2 separate regions of the Homo sapiens genome follow, and region 2 is linked to region 1. Evidence: promoter capture Hi-C in human tissues and cell types (Jung and others, 2019). All regions are on one chromosome and are shown on one strand. The core of a region is centred on a gene start or on the middle of the fragment in contact, and the rest is flanking DNA. Distances in the headings are between cores, read along the strand shown.

The links. The method cuts DNA at HindIII sites, captures the fragments that hold promoters and counts their contacts. A contact is called where the count stands out against the background at its distance.
Region 2: a contact is called between a fragment that was not itself captured here and the fragment with the promoter of PTBP3 in region 1, in 1 of the 25 tissues and cell types used here (IMR-90 fibroblasts).

Annotation. Positions count from the first base shown.
Region 1 is chr9:112,332,147-112,335,374 of GRCh38, reverse strand. It overlaps PTBP3 (polypyrimidine tract binding protein 3), which reads left to right and starts at 1,756. Exons shown (of 14, transcript NM_001163788.4): 1 at 1,756-1,905. RefSeq lists an enhancer at 712-1,682 and silencers at 1,432-1,751, 1,902-2,391. The HindIII fragment of the contact is 19,118 bases long and covers 1-3,228 here.
Region 2 is chr9:112,469,018-112,472,365 of GRCh38, reverse strand. It overlaps HSDL2 (hydroxysteroid dehydrogenase like 2), which reads right to left. Exons shown (of 11, transcript NM_032303.5): 11 at 1-1,934. The coding sequence ends at 1,822. It overlaps HSDL2-AS1 (HSDL2 antisense RNA 1), which reads left to right. Exons shown (of 5, transcript NR_171779.1): 3 at 2,529-2,643. Among named protein-coding and RNA genes, the nearest start is that of KIAA1958, 16 kb to the left of the region's middle. The HindIII fragment of the contact is 3,336 bases long and covers 281-3,348 here.

The DNA of each region.
Region 1 (3,228 bases), core at 507-3,006:
GGCAGAGGTTGCAGTGAGCTCAGATTGTGCCACTGCACTCCAGCCTGGGAGACAGAGCAAGACTCCGTCTCAAAACAAAAAAACAAAAAAACAAAAAAACAAACAACAAAAAAAAGTAAGGTCCAGAAGGATGCACGCAGAATTGTTACAGTGGTAGTCATGGGCAGGGGGTGGTTTGGGAAGAAAAATATTAATGATAACTTTTCAATATTTTATAGTGCTTGAATTTTCCAAAATGAGCATTTATGCTGATATTACTTGTGTAGCTAAAAAAAGGGTTAAGGAAATTTCATCAACAGAATATATCCCAAATACAGTGATAGAAAGACTGCATCAGCTACTTATCTTGTTGATATTCTACATTTCCATCTGGCAATGTTTACAAATGCAACTTAATATTTAGATTTAATATACAAAACAAAATGTATTTGACATTTTGGAAGGGGACTGAGGTTAGATACAGGACTTTAAGAATTACCTCACCGAATTACTCTACCTATTTGAAAAGTTGTATGTCAAAAATATACATAAACGGACTGAAGAATCCATTCAACAGTGACGGCTGGAACCTGATTTTCTTGTGTATTCATGCAGTGCCCGGCACATAGTAGGTTAATACTGACTGAATGATGAATGAGTCCACAGTTTAGATCTTTTTAGCAGCACCTACTGATCTGAAAGCAGGAAATTAGCAAGGATAGATGTTTGAGGTTCTTGTTAGTTGCTTTTCAAATGACGAAGCCACGGGGAGGAGCCCCGCTCTTTTTTACTCAGTAGGTTAAGAATTTGGCTTAACAGTTTAGGGGGTTACATTTTGGTGATCTGTGAGTTGAAAAAGTACTCAATTTCTCACTAAAAAGGGAAAAAAGCAAGCGTGTTGTCACTCGTTATATTATATATATACTTTTTGCTCAGACCAGAGGGAAGGGCTCTGGTGCAAACGTTTCCTGGTTGTGAAACTGTGAGCAAATCACTCTCTTTGTATATGTATTTTCATCTGAAAAAAGGGAATAATGAGTAAACTTTTAAAAAATGCTGGGAATATAGCCATTCCATGTTTGTACAATGAATTTTTCATATAAATTCAATACTAGACGGTTAGGTCGAAATGCACTCAGATACTTAAATTGTATACAAATTCCAGTCCGGGCAGCCTCTTTCACCTCATTCATCGTCCCAGCCACACCTATGGGGCTGGTGTCGGTCCCAGCGGTCGACTCCAGCGCCGGGCTGCCAGAGGCTGGTCCCTGGACGTGTCATCTACAGCCTCGCGCACCCGGGGCAATTCCACCTCGTTTCTGGGGTCCTTGTGGGACATTCCTTCCTACTCTTGGGAGTCAGGTCCCCATAGCTTTTCCTGCCGGCAGAGGGAGGCATTCAAACCTGGCAGGCCCGGTCTGCGAAGCCGGAAGGCCCGCGGGGCCGCGGGAGGGCGGGCGGGGTGCGCGGCGGAGCGGGAAGCACAAGGCGCGCGCTCCCGCGAACGCAGGAGGGAGGCTGGGGGCGCGCGCGCGCGCCGGGCCGAGGGGCCGAGAGGCGGGGTCTTACAGCGACCGCGGGAAGAGGGCGCCCCAGAGCTGAGCCGGAGGCCGGCTGCCAGCGGGGCGAGGGTGGGCGCGAGCGCAGGGGCGGGCCCCGAGGGAGGGCGGGGACGGTGAGGGGGCGGGGTCGGGCTAGGCGGGGACGCGCTCGCGGGGTGGGGAAGGCGGGGGCGCGGCGGTGGCGGGAGCGTGCCCGGTCCCCGCCCCTGTTCCCACTCTCCTTCCACCTCGGACCGGCCGGGGCTCCGCAGAGCCAAAGCTCGCTTGTCCCCGGAACCGCCCTGCTGCCGCCGCCTGCTTCCTCTGCTCGCGGTTAGCCCGTCAGTCCCTGCTCTGTGCGCGCCTCCATCTGGGCCATGGATGGGTAAGTACTAGGCGGCGCGGCGGCCGCACCGGGTTGCCTTGGCGCCGCTTCCACCCGGCTCTCCGCGGGACGCGTAAGGGCTGGGGAGCAGTGCGCGGCGCCGGCGGCCGGAGGAGCGGCCCCGGCCAAGCCCGACGGCGGGGCTTCCGGGCGTCTCGGTGGGGATCCCGGAATCGCGGAGTTGCCGTCCGCCGCAGGCTCTCCTTTCCCCACGCGGCGCCCCGGACACGTCCGCTGCTTCCTAGCCTTACTCGACACACCCGGGAGCAGAGGAAAGCCCGGTCCGGCCGCGGTGCCGAGGTCCGCCCTCCGCGCCCCGAGTCCGGGGAGCCCAGCTCGGCCTCCCGACACTTCCTCTCAGAAAATGGTGCGCGGCGCTGGGGGAGGCGGAGGCGGCGCGCGGGGCGGGCGTCCTCCTGCCGGGGGAGTTGCTGTTTACCGGCGAGGTGGGGCGAGCGGCCGACGGCGGGTGCACGCGTCGGTACACGTCTGGGCGGCGACCTGGTCGCAAGCCATGGTCCCACGCGGGGTCCCAGGGCCGCCGCGGGACTTGGCCGAGGTCTCCCGACTTGTGCTGTGAGATACGTTAACGCTTTCTCGACACCAGGGGTCTGGACTTAGTGACCATGGACGCTTCCCCCTCACCTTTCTCTCTCCCCAAGAAACTTAATGAATTATCTGCCCGTGTATGTAAAATATGATGTACGAGCGATTTTCGGGGGCATTTCAAATGCTCAAAAATTTAATGGGGGTCCGTGACCAAAATAAAAAGATTTAGAGTCTATGTATATAAACTGTTCTCTGGGGACTCAGGGATATGGGGTGGGACTTGACATATTTTGGTAATTAAAGTAACAACTATGTTAGGATTTTGGTGAATTAATTGAAGGTTGTAGTATCTGTACCTACGGATTAAAAAAAAATCTCCAACTCGGTTTATTCCCATTATGTATTTGAGGTTTTTTTTAGCTTGTTACCTACTTTTGATGACAAGATTTCTGTGAGGTTGTGGAATATATGCAACTTGCTAGAACAGTAAAAGTCGTTCACATGTTGCCATACAGTTGATGATATGCTATTTGAAGATGAAATCTTCCAACAGCTTTTGACCTCATTAGATTTCATTTATTTTAGTTTCACAATATTAAGTGTATATGACATTTCGGATTGATTCATTTGAATGCAGATTGCACACTGCTACAGACATCAAAGTGGAGTTTTAGATTTTATTCATGATTGTGATGTTCTTTATTTTTATTTGATTGAAGCTTCAAAAAATTTCTTAAAATTATAACTTTTTTGGGTACACAGTAGGTGTATATA
Region 2 (3,348 bases), core at 699-3,198, 140 kb before region 1:
GTAGCATCCAGCCTACAAAATAAAACAGAAGCCCCGCCAGGTATGATAGAATGGTCTGCATTTGTAAAGCAGCACTAGCAGGAACAAGGAAACAGCATAGTAGACACAGCAGATTGGTTAACATCAGGTTACTTCAGGTTACGTTCCTTGTGTGGATTAAAGCAGAGGGGGCTTCCTCATCATAATCACGCTTGCTCACGTTGACTGGACTCCCTTTGATCAGTTGCTGTGAATCTCCTGACTTGTTGAAACTGTCCTATTTTTAAGTTCACTTTGATTACATGGACTCCATTCCTGGATGGAGAGGTGAGATCTTGGAGTTCCATTCAACATAAATGTATTGTAAAGTTTTTGTTAGAGGGCTTGTTAATGTTGGCCTTGGGCTAGTCCTTTCCCATCTCTGATCCTCTGCTTCCTAACTTGTAAAATACAGATTAAATGCTCCTAACATTATGAATCTAAGAAATGTCAGGATTAGCTAAATTGCTTAATGGCACAACAATATTAGAGTGGAAGCTGAGAAGCAAAATTGTTACACTGAGCAAGTATTTTTAACTGATTGAAATGAAAGATAAGAGCTTTTTAAAAGTTTATCTTCCCCTCAACCCTCCCAGCCTCTCAAACCACTGTATTAGCTTGCTAGGGCTGCCATAATAAAATACCACAGATTGGGGGGCTTTTTAAATTAATTTATTAGGGGGGTAGAGATAGGGTCTTACTATGTTGTCCAGGCTGGCCTTGAACTCCTGGCCTCAAGCAATCCTCCTGCGTCGGCCTCCCACAGTGGACGGCTTAACAACAGAAATTTATTTCTCACTATTCTGGAGATTAGAAGTCAAAGATCAAGGTGCTGGTGATTTTGTTTCTTCTGAAGCCTCTCTCTTTGCTTGCAGATAACTGCCTTCTCACTGTGTCCTCTCCTGGTCTTTGTTCTGTGCACACATTGCTGGTATCTCTTATGTCCAAAGGACACCATGTTGGATTAGACTAACAGCCTCCTTTGAACTTAAGTCACCTCTTTAAAGGCCTCATCTCCGAACAGTCACATTCAAAAGAAATGGGAGTTAGGACCTCAACAAATGAATTGGGGGATACACAGTTCAGCCCATACCAATGACCTATTCTAAGGTTTCTGTTTCAAAACACTGTAGCCAAATGCATACTCCTAGGGAGAAAATTATTTTGTTTTAGGACAATTTAAACATATTTTTAAATGGAATACATGCAGCAATTTGTTAAATTACATTAGTAATATTTTCCTATGGCTAAGTCCACCTGGAAAGCTAGTTATCAAAATGAAAAATTATTGTTTCATTTAGTCCTCGCCAGTACTAATTCATTTTTTATAATTTTTGTAAAATGTACTATATAAGATTTTCTTTAAAATAAGTATATAAAAATCAAAAACATCATTAAGATTTTCATTAGTATACAATCCAAAACTAAAAATTTTAAAACAGACTAGCTTCATTTTACATGACAAGAAGATTTGAAAGAGCTAATTTTACTGCTTGATCTGACTGTCCGCCCAAAATACTTTTCTTGGAGAAAGACAGTGAATGAGATGTAAGGCTCAAAGGGTTAAACCCTTGAAATATAAAAACACAGACTGTCTTAGAATCCCACTTAATGAAGCTTATGTTTGATTAGCTTGCCATTTTAATTACAATTTCAAGTCTTTTAGAGACAAATTCTATCTTTTCCAGAACAAACGTGCATATCCTTATAATATAACAGGAAAGAAAACAAACATTAGATTTTAACTGTTGAGCTTTTTTTACTTTTTGAGCATAGCAGTCGACTTTTTTTTTATATTTTCCTTCACAGTCTGGCATTCATCTGATTCATTAGCTTCTCCAATTTGATTGCTAGGGCCATGTTACCTTTAATCTTCAATTTCCCTGACATGAATGCCATTGTTGGTTTTAGTTTCCCTAAAATGAGAAAATGAGAGAGGGAAAAGCAACCATTAGTGCCCTTAGGGATATATTGCTTTAAGAACACGCATTGTAAAAAGAATCTCCTTGAGTTCTATAAACCTCAGAAGCATAGAAATTTCTGTTACAGCATTTTATATCAGTATCTTGGGAATCCCAATTCCTAGACTTAGATGTTAACAATATCCTATTAAGAGCTAGCATAAAAACAACAATCAGCAAAAGATTATAGCAAATGTTTTTACACCAAAAAGATTTTTATACACTAAAGGATACACGGCCCTCAAATGAATTCTGGTAAACAAATACTGTCTATTTTAGTTAATTTTCCAACTTACGATAGTTCATTAAACTTTTGACATTTCAAGTTCAAAAAACCAAATGGTGTAAATGAACAAAATAGTCTTAAGAAATGATCATTAAAAGTATAGTGTATGGACACAAAATATGTGTTAGCATTACTTTAACCACAGAAATGCCAGGGTATAAAAAAATGTAAGCATTAAAATAGAATTGTACCTAATAACAACATGTAATAAATATGAGCTCCATGGAGAGAAGTACATTTGTTATCTGCTACTCTTATTCCAGTGTCAGTACGGGGTCTATCACATAGTGGAATTAATGAGGAAACAGACTCAAAAAGGATTTTGGCTTGCTCAAGGTCACACAGCTTGTATGAGGCAGTGCTGCAATTTAAAGCCAGGTATGTCTGCCTTTCATTTATGACTTTTTTTCCTTTTTTTTTTTTTTTTTTTTTTTGAGACAAGGTCTCACTCTGTCTCCCAGGCTGGAGTACATGTACAGTGGAGTACATGGCTTACTGCAGCCTTGACTTCCCAGGCTCATCTGAACCTCCCACCTCAGCCTCCTGAGTAGCTGGACTACAGGCAAGCAACACCATGCAGGGCTAATTTTTTATAGAGATGGGGTTTTGCCATGTTGCCCAGGCTGGTCTCAAGTGATCCACCTGCCTCCCAGAGTGCTGAGATTACAGATGTGAGCCATCTGGCCCAGCCTCATTTATGATTTTCTGTCTTACATTATGCTAATTGATATAGATGACATATCTTCTAGAAGGCACAATATGTGTTTGGTTTATTAGTAGCTTAGTAGCCACCCTCCCCACCCCTGTGCCCCACACAGGTTCTTTGCAGAGAAAGTGTGTGAGTTAATATATTATATATATATTATATTAAGCTATTAAATGCCTTTAAATTATTCTAAATAGAGGTTATAGCAAAGCCTCATGGAGTTATTATAGGTAGAAAGGATCAAGTCCAACTCTTTTATTTTAATGAATAAACTGAGCTGTGTCCTACTTTAAGACAGTGTGATGTTAAAATCCCAATACTTACAAATAATAAATGAAGGGGTAACTTTTATTTACATGGAGGATACTGAAAGATCT